Regions from separate parts of the Homo sapiens genome. Here region 1 is linked to region 2. The links are contacts of gene promoters, found by promoter capture Hi-C in blood cells and fetal thymus (Javierre and others, 2016). All regions are on one chromosome and are shown on one strand. Each heading gives the region's core, a stretch centred on a gene start or on the middle of the fragment in contact. The rest is flanking DNA. Distances are from core to core; before and after follow the strand shown. Region 1 overlaps LOC105373909 (a long non-coding RNA gene). Region 2 holds the start of FAM124B (family with sequence similarity 124 member B).

The links. Contacts are between HindIII fragments. The CHiCAGO score rates a contact against its expected background, and 5 or more counts as called.
Region 1: a contact is called between a fragment that was not itself captured here and the fragment with the promoter of FAM124B in region 2, in 16 of 17 cell types (megakaryocytes, fetal thymus, erythroblasts and 13 more). The highest score is 12.4, in megakaryocytes.

The regions. Positions count from the first base shown.
Region 1 is chr2:224,640,612-224,646,001 of GRCh38, forward strand. The region is part of intron 2 of LOC105373909 (a long non-coding RNA gene); the gene reads left to right. Among named protein-coding and RNA genes, the nearest start is that of CUL3, 58 kb to the left of the region's middle. The HindIII fragment of the contact is 160 bases long and covers 3,436-3,595 here.
Region 2 is chr2:224,400,066-224,406,194 of GRCh38, forward strand. FAM124B (family with sequence similarity 124 member B) reads right to left here and starts at 2,042. Exons shown (of 2, transcript NM_001122779.2): 1 at 972-2,042. The coding sequence starts at 1,703. The HindIII fragment of the contact is 5,745 bases long and covers 1-4,249 here.

The sequences.
Region 1 (5,390 bases), core at 2,266-4,765, 240 kb after region 2:
ACCTCTGTCAAGATACGGGGCTATTCTATCACCAGGAAGACTGCCCTCTTCTTACCTCCCCACACCATCCCTCTTGCTACCTGCCCCTCTCCCAACCCCTAAACTCTGGCAACCACAGGTCTATTTTCCATTTGTATAAACTTGTCATTTTGAGATAGTTAAATAAATGGAATCATATGGTATGTGCTCTTTTGAGATTGGGCTTTTCTCACTTAGCATAAGCCTTTGCAATCCTTCCAAGTTATTGCGTGTATCCAAAGTTCATTTCTTTTTATTGCTGGGTAGTATTCCACTGGGCGGATGTGTCATAGTATTTTGGCTATTTCAAATCAAGTTGCTGTGTATAACCATGTACAAGTTTGTGTGGCTTTACGTTTTTATTTATCTGGGATAAATGCAATTGCTAGGATATGTCGTAAGAGCATGTGTAGTCTTTTTTAAGAAACTGCCCAGCTGTTTTTCAGAGGGGTCATATCATTTTACATTCCCAGTGTGTTATTTTTTTAATTAAAAAAATAAATTCCTTAATAAATTGATTATTGATAATGGTTCTTCACATGGGAAAGCCAATTTGTGAATTTGTTTATAATCATTATGTATGACCACATCACGGTCTTTTTCCAACACATCATAATTGATGGGGAAACCTAGGATCCTAGGTCATTGGCTGACTAGACCAGCAAATATAGAAGTTATCTTATACAGATATGAGCAGGAATGGACACATCCATCAACAGGCCTTCCATTGTTGGACTTCACTATATCAGTGTGGACACAATTCGTTCCGGCATTCCAGGTAATCAAGAGTCACTTTGTTGTCAAAGATGCTGAAACAATTTTTTAGCGTTATCTTCTTGCCTTGGTCACATGCCTAGGATATAGAGGGCAAGTTCTTTTTTTTTTTTTTTTTTTGAGACAGAGTCTTTCTCTGTCGCCCAGGCTGGAGTGCAGTGGCATGATCTCGGCTCACTGCAGCCTCTGCCTCCCGGGTTCATGCAATTCTCCTGCCTCAGCCTCCCGAGTAGCTGGGACTATAGGTGCCCGCCACCATGCCCGGCTAATTTTTTAATTTTTAGTAGAGATGCAGTTTCTCCATGTTGGCTAGCCCCATGCCTGGCCCTGGGGACAAGTTCTTTTTAGCTCCACTTTTTTGTAGGAGAATGTGCAAGGATGGAACGTCATGTCAGTGAATCTCAGAGACAGCAGTCAAAGCCACAGAGCAGTGGGAGGAAAAATAACTCTGGCTTTGGGGTCAGTTCTGTTACTTTCTAGCTGTTTGGCCCATGTTACTTAAACTCTCAGCCTCAGCTTCCTTTTCTGTAAAATGGGACCACTAGTGTCCATTTCACAGGATCCATGAGATTATTAAATGCAATTGTGCGTGTAAATCAGTGGGCATGTAGTATCAACAAACACAGGTACTGTTTGTTGGGGGCTTAATTTGAGGCACTGTGCTGAGCTCCTTGTAGGCGCTTTAAATAAAATGACAAGTTTTCTTTCCACACTTTCTAATTTCCTTTTGTTTTCTTACTCTTATCTTCCTAAAGCTAGGAATATGATAGTGAGTTTATCACTTCATTCAAAAAATATATACTGAGCATTGTTTTCTTACTGGTTTTTTTAAATCTTCCCTAAAGCTAGGAATATGATGGTAAGTTTATAATTTCATTCTTTCATTTAGCAAATATTTATTGAGCAACTATTCTGTTCCAGGCCTGGTTCTAGGTTCTGAGGTCATAGCTCTGAACAACATCTGTGTTCTCATGGAGATTACATTCTAGCAGAAGGCTAACAAGAAACCAGCAAGCAAATATGTATACTAGAGAATTTCAGACAGTTCTCAGTGTGAAGGAAACAAAAAGGAACAGGGCAGTGTGAGATGGCAGAGTCATCAGGGATGAGGCAGGGGAGACAATGAAGAAGGGCTACCTTAGAAATTGTGACTGGGAATGAACCTTTAAGGAGGAGACATCAGAAAAGAAATAGGAGGGAAGAGAGAAAACAGCAATAGAAACATGCAGGAAAACAGAGTTGGAGGCAGAGTGTATGCAAGTGAAATGAACTTGGTGTGGTTTGAGGAGCAGGAAGAAGGTCAGGGTTCCTGGTGCTTGACAAACGAGAGCATTTGTGGAGTAAAGATGAAGAAGGAAATTGGGTCTTCTAGGACATGGCAAGAAATTTGAACTTTATTGTAAATGTGACAGGAGGGTTTTGAACATTGGAACCATGTGATTTGATTTATATTTTACAGGGAGTATTCATTTGGCTGTTTGAAAAGGAGACTGGAGAGGTTAAGGTGGCAAGGGAGCATGCAAAAGAATGAGTGAGAGGGCTAATGCGATACTCCTGGTGAGAGGTGACTGTGGTTTGGCCAATGCTTCTAGCAGCTGAGCTGGAGAGAAGAGGATGGATTTGGGATAAATTTTGGAGAGGAGCTGATAGGATCTATCAGATGGATAAAACACAGGAGTGAAAGAACAGAAGGAATAAAGGATGACTTCAGGCTTTTGGCTGAGCATTTGTTGATGGGAAATCCAGGGCGCTCTTAATGTTCCATTGTGTGTTTTAAAAGGGAGCAGTGTCTTGTATTGTACAAGATGCACTCAGTCCTGTATATGCTATTATCAGTGAGAAACAAGACTGGGCTATAGATTTGTTGGTATTAGAGAAGAGAGGTTGATTACTTCTTGAATCCTCTAGGATTTTTCCTTTATGGATACATGTGTTGGACTACTTTGTAAGTTTTGCTTCAATTATCCTCCAACTGTCCCATTTTCCTACTCTACTCGTGGCTCCCACTTCTGCTTCTTCTGCACCTCAGTAGAACAGGAGCAGCCTCCCAGGGCATGGCAAGTTCATTTGGCTTGGCATGGGCCCTGGACAATGGGTCTTGCCTTCAGGTGGTGTGACTTCTTGGCTTGGTGAATAGAAAATGCCATCCTAGGCCGGGCGTGGTGGCTGACACCAGTAATTCCAGCGCTTTGGGAGGCCGAGGCTGTCGGATCACCTGAGGTTAGGAGTTCGAGACCAGCCTGGCCAACATGGTGAAACACCATCTCTACTAAAAATACAAAGATTAGCCAGGCATGGTGGTGCACATCTGTAATCTCAGCTACTCGGGAGGCTGAGGCACGAGAATCACTTGAACCCTGGAAGCAGAGGTTGCAGTGAGCCAAGATGGCACTACTGCACTGCAGCCTGGGCGACAGCAAGATTCTGTCTCAAAAAACAAACAAACAAAAAATGCCATCCTGGCTGCCTGTGCTGATCCTGAACAAGGTTTGGGGGCTAGAGCAGAGCAGACCCCTACGCATGTCTCCTTTGGTTTAGGGTCTTTGGGGAAGGGATGCTGCAGCCATTGGTGATTGGTGGTACCGAAACCCCAGCCTAGCGGCTTTGGGCTGACTCTGTGGGAAGCTGGTGTCAACTGTAAAAAGCTTCTCATCTGCAGTGCTTTGACAAGTACTTTCAGGAGAGTTTCTTAATTCTCTGAGCTCTAATTCCCTCATCTGAAAGGCAGAGTAGTAATAATTATGGCTTCTTAGAGTTTTTATGAGAATTGACTTAATTTCAGAGGCAGTAAACAGCCCAGGTAAGCTTGGCTTCGAGTGTGGAGTCAGGCCTTTCAATTCCTTTCCATCTGGAATTTTGGGTGGTGGGACATGGGAACAAGTTTCTTACCCTCTCTGTGCCTCAGTTTCCTTATTCCCAATAAGAGAATAATAATGGTACCTTCTTGTTATGGTTGCTGTGAGAATTGGATGAAATATTTTATGGGAAATGCTTTAAACTGTGACTGGTATTTGATTATAGCACTTAAAAAATACCTGTTGAGGCCGGGCGCAGTGGCTTACGCCTGTAATCCCAGCACTTTGGGAGGCTGAGGCGGGCAGATCATGAGGTCAGGAGATCAAGACAATCCCGGCTAACACGGTGCAACCCCATCTCTACTAACAATACCAAAAAAAAAAAAAAAAAAATTTAGCCAGGCTTGGTGGCAGGCGCCTGTAGTCCCAGCTACTTGGGAGGCTGAGGCAGGAGAATGGTGTGAACCCAGGAGGTGGAGTTTGCAGTGAGCCAAGTACACGCCACTGCACTCCAGCTTGGGTGACAGAGCGAGACTCCATCTCAAAAAAAAAAAAAAGCTGTTGATAAAAGAGGCCCTTGATGAATGTCTATTATTTAAATAATTACGTCCATGAAAAGTACTTTAACAGCATTAAAAAGTTAGTTATTGTGGGGCTGGGCGTGGTGGCTCACAGCTGTAATCCCAGCACCTTGGGAGGCGGAGGCAGGCAGATCACAAGGTCAGGAGTTCGAGACCATCCTGGCCAACATGATGAAACCCCTTCTCTACTAAAAATACAAAAATTACCCGGGCGTGGTGGCGCACGCCTGTAGTCCCAGCTACTTGGGAGGCTGAGGCACAATAATCACTTGAACCCGGGACGCGGAGGTTGCAGTGAGCAAAGATCGCGCCACTACACTCCAGTCTGGTGACAGAGCGAGTGAGATTCAGTCTAAAAGAAAAAAAAGTTATTGTGTTAAATTTTATTACATCCTCCATTATCCTTGCTGATTTTGTGTTCCAGAAATAATTACAACATTATCACACAAATCTAATCTCTGGGATCTAAATGAGAGGATCACACACTCAGATGGCTACAGGGGCGAGACAGGTCACACAAATAAATGAGGGTGCAAGCTCTGCGATGAAGGGTCCACAATCAGAATCAGATCTGTTAAAATAGGCTATGGCCAACTATTTCAATACCAGCAGTATCACTTGCAGATTCTTTCAGAGAAGCTGGAAATCTGAAATTTTTATTAATAGATGAGATTTCTGGGTTTATTAATGTTAGCAGTTTAACCAAAGAGTTTAGAAACACCTTGTTGGCTAAAGAAATGTATGTTTCAGGGGAGTGGCCTTGACCCACAGACCACCAGTTTAGAAATGCTGATCTAGACTACTGCAGATTAGTTTGTGAGACCAGCCAGAAATAGGATCCAGAAAGGTCAATATACATGGGAGAATGGTTAGAGCACCAGGAACCACTGGAGTGACAGGCTCAGGTGGGTGGATCCTCAGAAGCTGCTCTGGGGCAGGAGAAAGACTGGACTTGGGAGCAAGAAGGATGCTGAAAAGATGAAGCCCGTGACCGAAGGTGACCTGGGCATACTTGACAAGCTAATCTAGGGCTGGCCCCAATGCCACAGATATCTGTATTTTGAATACAGGTTGTTTTTACTTCCTTGGCAATCAGGTTACACAGAGGCAGTATTGTTCAATTCCTATGGCTTCCCGGGACCTGAATTGCACCTGCTGTGCATAACGATGGCATCATCCATAATTAGGCAATGACTTGCTTTTGTCTTGAGGCTTCTATGGG
Region 2 (6,129 bases), core at 792-3,291:
AGGCTTTAATTTCAAGTTTTTTTAAGAAAGCATTCTATCTAACTTGGTATGTGGTAAAATTTGACAGTGATGCAAGATGCTTAAAAATTAAGTCAATACGAGTTGATGGGTGCAACAAACCAATATGGCACATGTATACCTGTGTAACAAACCTGCACTTTGTGCACATGTACCCCAGAACTTAAAGTATAATAATAAAGAATAAAAATTAAGTCAATAGTACTGCAAACTTAACATCCCTAAACAAGCTCGGCCAACATAGTGAGACCCCGTCTCTAGAAATAAAATAAAATAGCCAGACATGGCGGCACGTGCCTGTAGTCCCAGCTAATCAGGAGGCTAAGGCAGGAGGATCACTTGAACCCAGAAGGTGAAGACCTCAGGGAGCTATGATGGCACCACCGCACTCGAGTCTGGGCAACAGAGGAAGACTCCCATCTCTAAAAAATAAAAAAATTAAAAATTAAAAAAACCATATCTAAACATAAGTATGACTTCAACTTCCTTAAGTCAGATTAGAAGAGCTTGTGACATTCCTGAGCCCAAAGAGTAAACAAAGGATAGGGGTATAGTTGATGGGCATTTAAACGGCAAGCCTGAGAAAGGAGGCCGATTCTTTAATAGGATTCTGATCTTTATAGTAGAATCCTGTCTGATTCTACTATAAAGTACTTGTGTCAGCTGCAAATTCATGGAATCTGAACTTTCTTATCTGTCAGATGAGATTTTATGAGATCAGTGATTCTCAACCCTGTTACAGATTACAGTCATCCAAGAAGCTGTAAAAAAGTTACCTAGGCCTGGATGTTCCCAGAGATTCGGATCAAACTGCCCTGGGGTGGGAATTTATGAAAGACCCTAAGGGACGCTAATATGCAACCAAGTCTGAGAACCACTAGCTTAGGCCCATTCCGATGTAAAATTACACAGCTCCATGAGCCTCTACAAGATCTGAGACAAAACAGAAATACCTGAAGCAGAATCTTGTTGCCATCGTAGTCCTGAGTCTGCCACCTGGTGCTGCTGATAGGCATGCATGGATTGGGTAGCAGAGGCACTAACTGGCCGATCTCTTGAACCTTAAACTGCAGCACCGAAGACTCTTTGGGGTCCACTGACATTCCCGGGGGCAGCTGCTTCAGGGAGAGCTGCAGAGCAAAGCTCTTGGAGGCATAGAGCACGAAGAAACAAAAATTGCTCTTTTGCAAGGTCGCTTCTCTCTGCAGGATCATCTCGTAGAGTCTGATGGCGTCTTCATAGTTATCAAAACTGCAGTACAGCGTCACCCTCAGGATCTCGGAGCCACAGTGCACCTGCCTCACCCCCCAGATGGGCAGCTGACTGTCCAGGCTGTAGAACTCCTGATTGGCAAAAAAGTAGGGACACAGCCTTCCCCGAGTGTCCTGGGTGGGGTAGCACTGCCATGGCGAATGCTGGAGAGAGTCCAGGACGCGAAATAGCCTATCCTCTCCCGGGCTTTCGTGCAGGAAGAGCAACACGGACATCCCTGGAAACCGGGACCGCTTGGAATGGGACTTTTCACAGTATTTCACAGGACTGGCCCGTTCAGACACCTGAAAGAGCCGGACCTCTGGGCAAATGCAATCCAGGAGCTGGTCCAGAGTCCTCTGCAGAAGGGAGCCGTGCCCAGAGTTGGCAAGAAGATGGACAGTCATGGCCAGAGGCCCCTGTGTCTCATCCATGGAGGAACTGCCTGAGGCTGACAAAGACAGCGTGTGTAGAAGGCCCACTGTTCAAGTTTCTGAAATGAATGAAGAAGCGGCCCAGCCTTCAGCCCGCCTGAAAACCTTCAGCTGCAGCGGCTACTTCTGAGCAGAGCTCTTAACCAGACTAACACGTGCTCCTGGCCACCCGTGGACTTACGGCAAGAGAAGCTCACACCAGCTCGGGTTCAGCAGCCTCCCTCTCCACACAGCAGCAGCGGGGTCACGTCATCCAGCTTGTGCATAATGTAACTGCTTGTGTTTAGCCTTTTCAGGCGTTCCCCAGGGTTTCTGCGTGACCTAAAAACCTATAATCCTGAGAAACACCCAAATGGGCGGCTCTTATAGACACTTAGTACAGGAAATGACCGGCCGAAAAGGAACATGAGTTGGCTCTGTTAGGCTGATAGCAATCTGTTTAGTTGAAAAGACATCCATTTTATCAACTTACAACGGGTTCTCATTTCCTACTTACGGTTTACAGTAGCCTGCTCCACCAATCTGAATACAATGACTTCTTGAAAACAATTCTCAAAACCTGACCCTTTGCCAGTTTTTTTTTTCCTTTGTCTCTTTATTTCATTTTGTTTCTGAACATTTTCTGCTAGGGCACGAAGAGAAGACTTTATCTAAATAATTTTGACTTCACTGAAAATTATTTGCTGTACCGAAAATTCTGAGTGTACTAAAAAGACATTGAGAAAATTAGTCTTCCTTTATTCACGCAAATTCTTTAGAAAGAGTGAGAGCTTTCCTATAATTGCTCATATAATTATAATAATAAATAATTATAATTAACAATTGTAATTATAATTTTTAGTGTCTAATGAGGATCTACTATGTACCAGTCATAAACTGTTCTAATTCTTAAAGTAATTAGTTTTGTTTTGTTTTGGAGATGGAGTCTTGCTCTGTCGCCCAGGCTGGAGTGCAGTGGCGTGATCTTGGCTCACTGCAACTTCCACCTCCCAGGTTCAAGAGATTCCCCTGCCTCAGCCTCCCCAGTACCTGGGATTATAAGTGCGCCAACACGCCCAGCTAATTTTTTTGTATTTTTAGTAGAGACTGGGTTTTGCCATGTTGGCCAGACTGGTCTCGAACTCCTGACCTCAGGTGATCTGCCCGCATTGGCCTCCCAAAGTGCTGGGATTACAGGCATGAGTCACCACACCTGGCCCTTAATGTAAATTAATTTAATCTTGCAACAAACCTATGAAGAAGAGATTACTAGCCCCAAATTACAGATGAAGAAACTGGGGCATAGAAAGGCTAGGTAACTTGCCCAAGGTCTCACAGCTAAGAAGTAGCTGAAGGATGATTTGAACCCAGGAACTTGCTGCACTGCCTCTCTGGGGCCTTGAAGTCCCAGCCTGGGTATTCTTCTTGTAAGGAAAAGATATAAAAGCAAGTTCTGGTTAAGGATCTAGATTTGCAGACTCTTGAGCTGTTGAATCTTAAACGGAATAATCTTCAATGAGAAAGTTGTCAAGCTCTAAACACTCACCCTAAATGTGTTCTAAATATTGATTTAAAAATTATTTGTGGCCACGCATAGTCGTCACGCCTTGATCCTAGTACTTTGGGAGGCCGAGGCGGGTGGATCACCTGAGGTCAGGAGTTCGAGACCAGCCTAGGCAACATGGCAAAACCCCGTCTGTACTAAAAACACAAAAATTAGCCGGGCAAAGTGGAGCATGCCTGTAATCCCAGCTACTCAGGAGGCTGAGGCACAAGAATCACTTGAATCCAGCAAGTGGAGGTTGCAGATCGCACTACTGCACTCCAGCCTGGGTGATAGAGCAAGACTCCGTCTCAGAAAATAAAAAATAATAAAAATAAATAAATAAATAAATATTTTTAAAAAATCATTTGCTCTCCTGATAGCTGTGCTCCTCAACAGGTATGAACAAGCACTTTTTCTAAACACAATTCTTTTTAAAAGAGGCAATTGGACCAGGCGAAGTGGCTCACAACTGTAATTTCAACACTTTGGGAGGCCAAAGCAGGACAATCGCTTGAGCCCAGGAGTTCCAGGCTGTGCTGACCTAAATTCATGCCACTGCACTCCAGCCTGGACAACAGAGCAAGACCCTGTCTCAAAGAAAAAAAATGTACTTCAAAAAGAGCTGTAAAAAATTAAAATAAAAGAGGCAAATTTATGAATCCTTATAATGAAACACAGTGTGACAATTTTTTACATTAAAAAATACTTTTGTGATGAAAAATATAACAACTTTATATATCTGGATTCCTTTAATAGTATAACAACCTAATTTAAAGTAAAATATTATTATCCAAGAAAAGGAGTTATTTCTATTCAGATTCACTATGTAAATCTAACGTACAATTCTAATCATTTGTGTTTCATAATTCCTGTACTTTTTGCATGGGAAAAATACATAAATACAATTTATAACAGAGGAATTGTTTCCTAGTTATTGTGAGCAGCTCAGTAATTAAATTCATCTTGTTTCAACTTTTAAAAAAATCATTAGAGGTTTTTTTTTTTGGCATTACAAATCTCAAGCTTTTTTAAAAAAAACTCGACAGCATTCATGTTATGCATTGGCATTGGAAGCAGATAACTATCTCATCTCTCAGTGTGAACACTCTCCCTTCCGCAACCCTTCCATTCACAGAGCTGATTGTACTTTAGACAAAACTATAGTTTTTGAAATAGGCTTTGAAATTCTGGAAATAACTCTAAAGATTTGAGGAGAAAAATTGTTCCCCTGAAACCACGATATTAACTCACAACATTTTGCACAAGGTAAGTATTAAAGCTCTTACATAGGAAAAGATTTTGTTTCTTGATATTATCTTCCATCTAATGCTGAAAATACACTTTTTTCCTGATGAGGTTGTCATTTCTTTCAGGATTGAAAAGATTTCATTAATCTGTTGGCAGCCAAAGTGCCAACAAATCCAAGGGGCAGGAGGCCAGGGAAGAGGGGGACCAGCCTCATTTCTGACTGGCTGTCTCTGTGATTATTTCCCCAGGAACAACGTGAAATACTGACTGACCTTCCCCAAACTGCCTCCACCTTTGGTCACTGCCTTCCACCCACAACAAATGCCAGATTCTCAGCTGTGCAGCACAACAGTGTTTTAGCATGGTGCTTCTGTTGAAGGCACAGACAAAAATACTAAGGGAAATCATCAGCTTTGACTCTCAGCACCCGGACAGCTGTCACTCCAATTCTCTATCTTATTTTTCTTAAACTTGGCAGGCAATGATGCCCAGGTTTCTGCAGTCATCAGCTCCTGGATGGCAGATGGTTGGTCCACTCCTCACAGCAAATGGAGAGGCTGGTGATGAGTCGCTCAAGCAAACCTAGAAAATCCGAGGCTCCATTGGAACCCATGAAAATCCTCGGGGATTTGTCCTTTCTACAAAATACAATGGGATGCATTATAACCTCGAGATTCCCACCCACCCCCAACCCAGGAAAACTCTGAGAAAAAGTTCCTTTCCATCTTTAATTTATAAAATATGTTTATCTCACATGTCAAGAGCCAGGCGTTGCACCAGGAGCAGAAGATAGAATCGTCACCATCCCCCACTTTGGAGGGGCACCCTAAATGATGCAGTCAGTGCCATGATAAAGGGTGCTGCAGGATGTATGGAGACCCCATGGGGAGACACTGAGTTAGACGAGGGGGCCAGGACTGTCACACACTGGTGCAACTGCAAGCAGTTCAAGGTGGCTGGAGTGGAGGTTCAATGAAGAGGAGGGTGGAAGGAAGCCAGGGGCCTGATCAGGAAGGGCCTTGCAGAACACTTTATTTGAATCTGACCAGAACCACCTAAAAGTCAGTATGAAAAGGGAAGTGATGCTTTGAGGAAGCCACGGACACAGCAAGATATGCAGTCAAAGGACAGGTTTGTTGGCTGGTTGGATGCAGGCAGAAAACCGTGGTGGCTAGTCCAGGAGGCATTCCAGGGTGGTACTTGCAGATGTTTGGGTGAAGCTGTCAGTCACCAGATAAGGAATACTGGAAAGGAGGGCAGTTAGGAGTGAGGATGAGGAGGGCAGGGTGGTTGTGTTGTGCATGGATGCCCGTGGGATGGCCAGAGTTGAGATGTCCAGTGGCCTGTTCACTACAGCTTTGAAGGGAACAGTAAACCAGAGAATAGGAATTGGGGAACTGCTGGTCTTCAGGCAGCCATGGGAAAGGATGTGACTACCCAGAAAGAGAAGACACAACAAGGACAGAAGAAGGAAGAGGATAGGATTCCAGGAGTACCCAGTTTAAGAGACAAGCAATGTTTAAGTGGCACCCAGGGCAAAATGGAGAGTGGAGTGTGTTATGAGGACTTCAGAACATGGCTTTGGCTGGGCAGACAGCATCATTTAGTGTTTCAGGCTAACATTTGTGACTCATTTCCCCTTCTCAATTAGGC